Regions from separate parts of the Homo sapiens genome. Here regions 1 and 3 are each linked to region 2. Evidence: promoter capture Hi-C in human tissues and cell types (Jung and others, 2019). All regions are on one chromosome and are shown on one strand. Each heading gives the region's core, a stretch centred on a gene start or on the middle of the fragment in contact. The rest is flanking DNA. Distances are from core to core; before and after follow the strand shown. Region 1 overlaps TAMM41 (TAM41 mitochondrial translocator assembly and maintenance homolog). Region 2 holds the start of ATG7 (autophagy related 7). Region 3 overlaps TAMM41 (TAM41 mitochondrial translocator assembly and maintenance homolog).

The links. The method cuts DNA at HindIII sites, captures the fragments that hold promoters and counts their contacts. A contact is called where the count stands out against the background at its distance.
Region 1: a fragment that was not itself captured here is called in contact with the fragment with the promoter of ATG7 in region 2 in 3 of the 25 tissues and cell types used here (lymphoblastoid cells, mesendoderm cells and thymus).
Region 3: a contact is called between a fragment that was not itself captured here and the fragment with the promoter of ATG7 in region 2, in 1 of the 25 tissues and cell types used here (adrenal gland).

Annotation. Positions count from the first base shown.
Region 1 is chr3:11,818,016-11,821,533 of GRCh38, forward strand. All of the region lies in intron 4 of TAMM41 (TAM41 mitochondrial translocator assembly and maintenance homolog), which reads right to left. Among named protein-coding and RNA genes, the nearest start is that of TAMM41, 27 kb to the right of the region's middle. The HindIII fragment of the contact is 6,785 bases long and covers 1-3,518 here.
Region 2 is chr3:11,270,375-11,274,056 of GRCh38, forward strand. ATG7 (autophagy related 7) reads left to right here and starts at 2,023. Exons shown (of 21, transcript NM_001349232.2): 1 at 2,023-2,056. RefSeq lists enhancers at 1,621-1,670, 1,627-2,218, 1,941-2,070, 2,219-2,808. The HindIII fragment of the contact is 6,326 bases long and covers 1-3,657 here.
Region 3 is chr3:11,790,740-11,794,587 of GRCh38, forward strand. All of the region lies in intron 7 of TAMM41 (TAM41 mitochondrial translocator assembly and maintenance homolog), which reads right to left. Among named protein-coding and RNA genes, the nearest start is that of TAMM41, 54 kb to the right of the region's middle. The HindIII fragment of the contact is 3,579 bases long and covers 1-3,551 here.

The sequences.
Region 1 (3,518 bases), core at 269-2,768, 550 kb after region 2:
ACTGACAACCATCGGCAAGATGGAGGAGAAAGGAATGGGAAAGTGGACACACTTAAGTGCATGCCTACTGGGCTAATGTGAAATCACAAGAGGCTGGACACACGCAGAACCTTCTGAGTCAAGCGTGGTGAAAGCAATGTGGCTGAATCCTTTGTTGGAGAGGGAGCAAATTGTCAGGGGGAGTAGAGAGGTGGCAAGTGTAGGCAGATAACCCAGCTGCTGAGGAATCCCCTGGGGCTAGGATGACAATATAATTTATCATCCAAACTAGGTCACTTCTGAGGGTGAAGGGATCGCTATAAATAATCACACTACGACAAGTATAAACTGAGCAAACCAGGACATATGGTTACCCTCGCCAATTTCTTTTTTCTGGAGAGGGGAAGGGATCATAGAGGTCATTATTTGCCACAATGGATTTTCCTAGTGCAAACTGTTGGCTTGTTTTAGAAAAAGTAAAAATACAAGGAAGACCAACAATATGTACTTCATTGAGTAAGGAATAAAATATGCTAGGTTTTAAGCTTCAAAGGACCAACTTACACTACAATTTGGTGGAATGCAACTGGGGACTGCAAGCTTAGAAAAACAGACTTCCAGGCTGGGCGCGGTGGCTCACACCTGTAATCCCAGCACTTTGGGAAGCCGAGGCAGGCGGATCACGAGGTCAGGAGATCCAGACCATCCTGGCTAACACAGTGAAATCCCGTCTCTACTAAAAAATACAAAAAAATTAGCCAGACGTGGTGGCAGGCGCCTGTAGTCCCAGCTACTTGGGGGGGGGCCGCAGGAGAATGGCGTGAACCCAGGAGGCAGAGCTTGCAGTGAGCCGAGATCGCGCCACTGCACTCCAGCCTGGGTGATGAAGCAAGACTCCATCTCAAAAAAAAAAAAAAAAGACTTCTAAAGAGCCTCTGGAACCCGATCTTGGTGTACAGGGGGTCTGACTGTTCAGGTGAGTGAGCAGAAGCGAGTCCCAGTCCTAAAAATCTGCTCAAATATGGATGAACTTGTTTTTGTCACTATTATTTTGAAGGGAAAGAGAGTTAGATAGTTAAAACCTGGGATCACTGCTAATGAGGAGGTTGAGAAATCAGTCCTTTCACATATTGCTGTTGACTGCATAAACTGCTAAAATTCTTCTGGAAAGCACTGAAGCAAGAAACCCCATCTCTGGAGCAAGCTTAAAGAAATAAGCCAGAAACACAGAGTAAGACAGAAACACACAGGTAACGTTTACCGAGCATCTGGTAAATACCAGCCACTGTGCCAAGTGTGTTGTGGTATTGCTTCATTTAATACACACAGCTCTCCTCTCAGGTAGATAGGATTCTATCCCCATTCATACACAAGGGAACAAAGACAGTGATTAAGAAACTTGCGTAAGGTTTCCAGGAAGTAAAAATATACTACATATATAAAATTGCTCACTGAAGCACTACTTATAATACTGAAAGCATCCCAAATGTCCAACAACAGGGGAAAGAATGCACTATGATGGCATATGGTTACTATCACAGACAGTAATCACACACAACAAGATGGAAAGTGATCATTTAATATGCAGTAAGAAACAAAGAGATACAAAAGTATAACAGGCTGGGCATGGTGGCTCACATCTATAGTCCTAGCACTTTGTGAGGCCAAGGCCGGGGGAATGTTTGAGCTCAGGAGTTCGAGACCAGCCTGGGCAACATAGCGAGACTCTGTCTCTATGTAATTTTTTTTTTAAGCATACCAAAACAAAAAAAACTTCATAAAAAATGAGAAAAACAAGACAAAGAGACTATATAAAAATGCTTATTTTTGCTCTAATAAAATACATTTATTGTGGGTTTTTGCATGTGTGCTTTAATTTGCTATCTCATTTGGTCATGGCAAAGCTCCATAAAATAAGTACTATTATTCTTAATTTTACAGATGAGGAGATGGACGTGCAAAGACAACATGCCCCAGGTCCAACTGCCTCTCGGTATTAGGGTAGTGAAATTTTAGGTGATGATTTTACTCTATAATTTCCCCCCATTTCCCTCACTTCTATAATGCTGGCATATTACTTTCTAGCATTTTAAAACACATTTATGGGATACACAGATGATGACGTGACAAATGTGAATGGAGTGGTGGCTGAGTTAACTTCCAACTGTGTAAATCCTTACACGTATAAAAATGGATTCCATTAATCTTTGAAGAGATGAAATGTCATCAAATTCTGACTCTAACAAGGCTGGCCCTGAAGTGAAAGATCAGTTTCTAAAACTGTTGAATTCTAAATATTTGTGTCATTCCTTCTTTCTGTACATTCCACAAACAAAAAGTTCCTCAATTTTAGACAGTCACTTTCTGAGAGAAGGATTTACCATTTTAAAATATCAAGGATTATGTTTTACAATCCAAATCTTCCCCCTAAAAGAACAATTGCATGCCATGATTAAAGGACCTAGAAAACACTCCAGGCTCTCGGAGAACAAGGACCGGGGCTTATTTATGTCTGCATCCTTAGCTCCTTGTGCACTGCCTGGCACAGGGAACACATACATCAATAAATGTGTGCAGAACTGAATTTCTCTCACTGGTGTGCAGCTGAACTAGCTCAACCGCAGGGGATAGGAAGCAAATGGGCTTATGACTCATTTCTTCAGAACAAAATGAATAACATCATGGGCACAGCACGAACCAGCATCTGATCATAACAATCAATTTTTCTTACCTTGGGAGATTTGTTTTCAACAAAACTACAGCAATGGATTAAAACTGACTGCTGACTTTATTTTATGCCTCTAGAACTGCCAGTACAATAGGCATCCAAAAGGATTTCTCCTTGACCTTGAAATGATACAAACTCCAAGGCCTGCAAGCCACCTGTAGGTGGCCTTCCCTGTGATTCAGGCATGCAGCCAGCAGTCAGGGACCTCATTACAAGTATGCAGATGTGAAGGGCTGCACAGTACAGCGGCAAGGCCCTGGCTTTCAAGTCTGGCAATGTCCCAGGGTGACTGAGGTCAAGTTACTTAAACCTTCTGAGTCCTTCACTGTAAAATGGCTTAATCACACTAACCTTACAAAGTTGCTTTCAGATTTAAGGAGTTAGGGCAGCAGTCCCCAAACTTTCTGGCACCAGGAAGAGGTTTTGTGGAAGACAATTTTTCCATGGATGTGGGTCCAGGGGACAGTGGTTTCAGGATGATTCAAGCACATTACATTTATTGTGCACTTCATTTGTTATTATTACATTGTAATATATAATGAAAGAATTATACAACTCACCATAATGTAGAATCAGTGGGAGTCCTGAGATTATTTTCCTGCAACTAGACAGTCCCTCTGGGGGTGATGGGAGACAGTGACAGATCAGGCATTTGATTCTCATAAAAAGCCTGCAACCTAGATTCCTCATATATGCAGTTCAAATAGGTATTGCGCTCCTATAAGAATCCAACGCAGCTGCTGATCTGACAGGAGGCGGAGCTCAGGCAGTAATGCAAGTGATGGAGATTGGCTGTCAATACAAATGAAGC
Region 2 (3,682 bases), core at 773-3,272:
TCCATTGACCAGTTGGAAAAAATGCTTATTAACCAAACTTGGGTTAAGCTTCTTTCCTTTCCCCAGGCTCCTTACTTTAACCTACTCTCAGCTTGAACTAGCATACTGTCTCATGTGTCCGTGTGAAGAGACTACCAAACAGGCTTTGTGTGAGCAACAAGGCTGTTTATTTCACCTGGGTGCAGGTGGGCTGAGTCCAAAAAGAGAGTCAGCAAAGGGTGGTGGGATTATCATTGGTTCTTATAGGTTTTGGGATAGGCGGTGGAGTTAAAAGCAATGTTTTGGGGGTAGGGGGTGGATCTCACAAAGTACATTCTCAAGGGTGGTGAGAATTACAAAGAAACTTCTTAAGGGTGGGGGAGACTATAAAAGAACCTTCTTAAGGGTGGGGGAGATTACAAAGTACATTGATCAGTTAGGGTGGGGCAGAAACAAATCACAATGGTGGAATGTCATCAGTTAAGGCTATTTTCACTTCTGCGGATCTTCAGTTGCTGCAAGCCATCTGGATGTATACGTGCAGGTCACTGGGGATATGATGGCTTAGCTTGGGCTCAGAGACTGACACACACAACCCCTACTGAGAATAGGTTGGCCTCAAGATAAAACATTCTCTAATCTACTATCTGATCAAGCCACCCCTTCATCCCACTTCCCATATTCGGTTGTTTCCAGCCTTGTTTACCTGCCTTTGGGGAGGGTGGGGGGTGGGGGAACCCTCTTTTTCCCTAACCATTGAAACATCTGCGGATGTTTTGGTCAGAGTGATCTCACTATTGCAATAGTCTCCCTCTGCTATTGCACGGTTCCTTCTCTCCCACCTCTCTCACTTCTTGCAGTAATCCTTTCTTTTTTTTTTTTTTTGAGACGGAGTCTCGCTCTGTCGCCCAGGCTGGAGTGCAGTGGTGGGATCTCGGCTCACTGCAAGCTCCGCCTCCCGGGTTCACGCCATTCTCCTGCCTCAGCCTCCCAAGTAGCTGGGACTACAGGCGCCCGCCACCACGCCCGGCTAATTTTTTTGTATTTTTAGTAGAGACGGGGTTTCACCGTTTTAGCCGGGATGGTCTCGATCTCCTGACCTCGTGATCCGCCCGCCTCGGCCTCCCAAAGTGCTGTGATTACAGGCGTGAGCCACCGCGCCGGGCCTGCAGTAATCCTTTCTAATAAGTATCCTTATTAGTCTGGATTTGTTTTCTTATTTGCCAGAATCAAACAAACTTCAGATTACGTTCCTGGCCCAAAAGCCCTTTAACTTTCAGCAAGCCACCTAACTTTTCTTAGATTCTGTTCTTTCATATATAACTTGGGGATATGTTTCAGGACTCTTGTGAGGATTAGAGATGTAAAACCCTGAAAACATGGTGGCTAGTTAATTAATAGCAGTCATCGCTCTTGTTGTTATGAGTCTAGAGTGGTATATCAGAGTTAATTTGTGAAAGGCCTTACAGGCCAGACAGAGAAACTTGTCATAATCACTGCTGTATCTTCAACACCTGTCCAGTGCTTTGCACGCGCAGAGTATCTAACCAAGTATTGAGAGGGAATAACTTTATCTCACTGACAGTGAGGAGCTGTGAGAATGATGGCTGGTTTAGAAAAGGCAGGTTGGTCACTGTCGACGTTCACTGGCCTTTTCCTACTAAAATTCTCATCTCCTGGCTCTCCACACCTGCCACCCTGATGGCCCCTGTGCTGCGTTTGATGCCGCCTCTCCTGGAGAATGACCATGGTGATCATTCCTGTCATCCTCTGAAATCAAAAGAGAGAACGTGGGCACTTTCTTAAAAGCCTGAAGGGAATGTAGACATTCCGACATCTGGTAAGGGAGACGCTCTCCATCGCTTCCCCCGGGGGCGTCACCGCCCCCTGATGCCCCGCCCTCCTCACGACTCAAGTTCCTCCCACTTAGCTCGGTGCTAGGGGCGCATTTCCCCGGCATGCCTCTGCTCCTTTGCGCACGCGCGCCGCTTCCCAGTGGCAAGCGCGGGCAGGACCGCGTTGCGTCATCGGGGCGCGCGCCTCAGAGAGAGCTGTGGTTGCCGGAAGTTGAGCGGCGGTAAGTGAGCCGCGGCGGGCGAGGGTGTAGTGGGGTCTTGCTGGGCCGGTTTTGGAGGCCTGGAGTCAAGGGGCGAGCTCGCCAGGGAGGGCGAGGGTCACAGCAAGTCTCAGGATCCTCCTCTGCCAGTTTCTGGGTGGTCCTTCCTCCTCCAGGGACTCACTGATTCCGGCTGGCGCCCTTCGTCTGTAGCCGCGTCCCCTCAGACTGGTTCAGTCCGGGGTCTTCTGACTTGGAAGCTCGTGCTGATTTCCTAAGTCAGCCCCTCCTGTCCTCTTGGTAGGCAGTGCTCAGAATCTTCAGTGTTGGAACACGGGAGATGGGACATTTGGATTCCCAGCCTGGCTGTGTCTGGATTTGCTGTCTCTGGCACGTTCCTTCCCCATCTAAGCTGCTTTTCCATCTGCAAAATGGGAATGATAATCCGCCATTTGTTTAAGTGAGGAGGTTAAATAAGTTTACTTTCTGAGAAAGAAGATTCTCGATTCCTTGGTTACAGGGTTAGAAACTAATGCACAATAAGAATCAATCCGGTAAGGTAAATATAGGTGTTAGAACATTTGTCAGAAATAGAGTCAAACTTCTAATTTTATAAGTACAGTACTAACGTACATGATGTTGGAGAAGTACAAGCCAAACCGTGTGTGTGTGCACGTGCGTGCAGTTTCCTGATTTTTAAACACTGGCGACTGATGCCATTTTTTAAAAATTGGCAAGTAATTCTGGCGTTTAAAAACATTGGCAACTCAGTTTTTACAAAACCCTGTTCAACTGTAACCAGTCATATCTGTGGCTGTCAGTTTGGGACCTCTGGATCCCAGACTCCCTTTTTCATTGACTACTTAGATTTTTTTCTCTGACACCTCTGCCCACTGGCCAGATTTCTTCAGTGACAGAAAGCTTTCTACTTCTGGTTGCTCCTGTTTGGTCCTCCCCCAGTTCTGACTCTTAGGTTGAGCTGAAAGCAGCTACTCGGTAATCTTAGCTCACTGTTCCTCCTTCAGGCTCTTGGAATCACCCCTGCATTTAATTGCCCTATACATCATTGAAAGCTGCTAGTTTGTCTTCCTCTTCTCACCTTTTCTTCTCTAGGCTAAGCATATTTAATGTATTTGCTCATAGTAAACTTAACAGTGACAGCAAATTTTGTCATGTTTTGTTATATCCCCAGCATATAGAGCAATGCCTAGCATATTATATATGCTCAATAAATATTTGTTGGATGAATGAATAAAACAAATATTTGCCTGTTATGTGCCTGGCATTATTGTGGGCACTGGTGATCTATCAGTAAAATAAGAAGAAAAAGAACCCTGTTTCATGGCACCTTCTAATAATAGTGGTGGTGGTGGCGGTGGCGGCATTGTCAGTAAGGGTTGGTAGGTGTTTCCGATTCTGAAACGTACAGGGTCATGGGATGGACAGTAATTGGGGGGAAGCATAAAAGCTAGCTAGTCAGGGATGGCTTCCCTGAGGAAGTGACCTAACACTTGAATAAAGAAAAGTCCAGTCTTGGAATGGCTCATGTTGCTAAACTGCTTTCCCATCCCCCAACGCTGCTCCAGTCTTGTTAAGCTGCTTGCAGGTGTGTGTCACCTATAGCCCTTTGCTTCTGCTGCTTCGAAC
Region 3 (3,848 bases), core at 512-3,011, 520 kb after region 2:
CTGTGATCAATGTAGGGGGAAATGATTCTGATTTCGGCATTTTCCGATTTAGGGCTATGGATGCCAACGGTTCCTAAGTTATTGGGATAAGTGATCCTTTTGAGTTATGAACATATTGGCAGCCTCTGAATTTAGCTCTTTCAAAAAGGTAGGACAAGGATAAGACTCTGTATGCCACTGGGTCCCCGTTCTCTCAGGCCTAAATTCCAACCCCACCTCACTGTCTCTATGTCACTGTGAAAGGCACCTGTCTGACTATGACAAATGCTGTTCCCATCACTTTCTGCCTCGTTGACTTGGAATCCCTGTTTGGATTTCTTCTCTAGGAAGTGCTTCCCTGGACCCACAGGGTGGCCCCACAGCATCTGTGCTCACTCAACACACTGTGCAGTACGTGTGGGCCGATTCACCCACGCCTCTGCCTGGACTGGGAGCTTCCTGAGGACAGGGACCTTGCCCTGTTCACCTAGGTGGCCCTGTCACCTAGTACAGGACCCAGAACACAGCAGGTGCTCTGTGAAAGCTTTTGAAATGACAAGACAAATGTGCCTCATTCGGAGAGCTGGCCCCCTAGCACCCCCATCTACTTAGTCAGGAGTGTGTGATGAAACTGGAGAAAGGCTCTCCGGGGGCTTAGGGGAAAGAAGAAAAAGGGAATAAAATAAATGGGTGTTATTTGTCAGATCTAAGAGTATCCTATCTGTGGATGCGATTATGGACTCAACTTCCTTTGTGTTGAGGGTGGGATCATTCAGTTTGTGTTTCAGGGTGTGGCCCAAAGATATGAACAGTCTTTTTCACTGTGAGACACAAACTGTGATCTGTGCTATGAGTGTAAAGTGCACACCCCTGGCAGTGCACTTTGGTGAGCATGCCGACAAGGTAACAGGTTTCGCTCTGGACATGCCTAGCACTGGGGTTTGAGTGATGGCTTGAAAATATCTGGCCCTGTTACCTGTAAACTGCTTAGTCCACTTAGAGCCTTGGAAAAGACCACTGCAGACAGTGGCAGGGGAGCAGTAAAATCATTAATGAATACTTCCAGACACTCTGGCTTCGTTTGTCTACCAGCTGACTACTTGCAAACCAACATAACCTAGTCAACAAACTCAGAGTTCCTTTCCCTGCCTCCACCCCTTTTAATTTTCTCCCTGGAGCAACCACTCTGGTAAACCCCACCCACTTCAGCATTGAGACTAGAAGCTTATTATATAAGGTGGTTTTTAAAATTCCAGCCAGAACCAACCAAAAGACCAAGCCGAATACAGGTAGTTATACATGGAAAGGTTCATATAGCAACCCCAGGGCACTGAGTCACAGCTAGAGGAGGATGCATGGGCCATGATAATTCCCAGCTCAACTTCAAAAAGCAGTTCCTGGATCTTAAACATTTAAGGTAAATACATAAAGTAGAAGAGTGTCACCATGTAGCCATTTTTTTTTTTTGTTGCTGCTAGTGGACAGAAATCTCCCTTGACTAAAACATTCTCCCTTTCATGGTTCTGCCAGTGAGACATTTTCAGAAAGACTGCAGCAGGGAAATCTGTTAGAAAGAGCACTAGAATCGGAGTCAAGAGACCTGGACTCTAGTTCCAGGTGGGCCACAAACTAACAGTGGCCTTTCCCTGGGCCTCAATTTCCTTATCTGTAAAATGACTGGGTTGGAATAGATGAGGGGTTCTCTAACAAGGGGTCCACAGATTAAGTCTGAGTGTCTGTGAACTCCCTAACACTGCAGGAAAATCTACTGTGTGTGTGCGTAGGTGCACTTCTGTGCAGGGCGTCCAGAGTTCTAGTCAGATTTTCACAGGGATCCTGGACTTGCAAAAGGCTAAGAACCAACAGATCAGAATGAAGAGTCTTTTCTGCCTTAATATTATAATTTCAACAGAGGTGGAGAACTTAAATTTCATGATTTTGGAATAGGCAAAAATTTTCTAAACAGGACACAAAAAACTGCTAAACATATAGAAAACAAAATGGATAAACTGGACTACATGAAATTATGAACTTCTTTTCACCAAAAGACACCATTAAGAGAGTGAAATGACATGGCTTACAGCCATAATCCCAACACTTAGGGAGGCCGAGGCGGGCAGACCATGAGGTCAGGAGATCAAGACCAACCTGGCCAACATGGTGAAACCCCGTCTCTACTAAAAATACAAAAAATTAGCCAGGCGTGGTGGCATGTGCCTGTAGTCCCAGCTACTTAGGAGGCTGGGACAGGGGAATCGCTTGAGCCCGGGAAGCGGAGGTTGCAATGAGCCGAGATCACGCCACTGCACTCCAGCCTGGCCACAGAGCAAGGCCCCATCTCAAAAAAAAAAAAAAAAAAAAAAAAAGAGAGTGAAATGACAAGCCACGGAGTGGGGGATTTTGACATCACATGTATCCAACAATGGAGTTGTGCCCCGACTACAGAGAGAATTCAGTAAGCAAAAGAGACAACTCAGTAGGAAAATGAGCAGAAGACTAGAATAGACGCTTCACAAAAGAGCATATCCAAATAAACAAATGAAAAATGCTCAACTTCCTCAGTCATGAGGAAAATGTAAATTAAAAGATCAATATGGTACCACTAGTCACCCACTAGAGTGCCTAAAATGAAAAAGACCTAAACAGGCATTCAGGGAGGTGCTGCAACAGAAGCTCTGCTAGTGCAAGTATAAATGTGGACGATTGTTTAGCAGTTTCTACTAAAGCTGAACAGTCACATGCTTTATCATCCAGGTATTCTACCCCTCAGTACATACCTGACAGGAATGCATACACCCACCCACCAAAAGACAGGTACAAAAATATTCACAGCAGCACTACTTCTAATAGTCCCAAGCGGGAACAACCCAAGTATCCATCAATAGTAGAATGGATACATTGCGGTATATTCACACAGCAGAATACTGCACTGGGCAGAAATGAACCACTGCTACTCCCAACACGATGAATCTCCCTATGTTATAAATGAACAGGGAAAGGCACAAAAGAGGACATGCTTATACATGGTTAAAAAATGGGTAAAACAGAACCGTGGCACTGGGAGTCAGGCTGGAGCTTACTCTCGGAGAAGCAATGCCTGTGACGGGCATGAGGGGTACTGGGGACTGGAATGACTGTATTTCTTTACCTGGGCACTAGGTCTATGAGGTGTTCCCTTTGTGGAAATTCATCAGATTTATGATTTTTGCACTTTTCTATCTATATGGAGATATTTCCTACTACCAGAAAATTTAGAATCTTTCATTTATTTGGTCACACATAGAACAAATATTTATTGAGCACCTGTATAAGCAAGACACTGAACTAGTTGCTAGGGATACTGGTACAGATAACAGCTATGGTCTCTGCCCTCACAGAGTCCACAATCCATAGACTTCTACTTGGTCTACACTAAGCTTACTTTCTTCAATTTTTTTTTTTTTTTTTTTACTCTGTCGCCCAGGTTGGAGTGCAGTGGCATAATCAAAGCTCACTGGAGCCTCGATCTTCTGGGCTCAAGAGATCCTCTCTCCTCATCTTCCTGAGTAGCTGGGGCTACAGGTACATGCCACCACGCCCGGCTAATTTTATTTTATTTTTGTAGAGATGGGGTCTTGCTTTGTTGCCCAGGCTGGTCTTGAACCCTTGGCCTCAAGCCATCCTCCCACCTTAGCCTCCCAAAGTGCTAGGATTACAGGTGTGAGCCTCTGTGCCCAGATTACATTAAGCTTACTCTTTCTACAGGAAAGGATGATGATTTAGGAATTCTGCTCACTCCTTCCCCAGTGGATAAAAATGCAACATCTCTTTAGATGCATTCCCTGTAGAGAGATCCTTATTTACCTAAAGCTAGTCATTATGAATTCTGG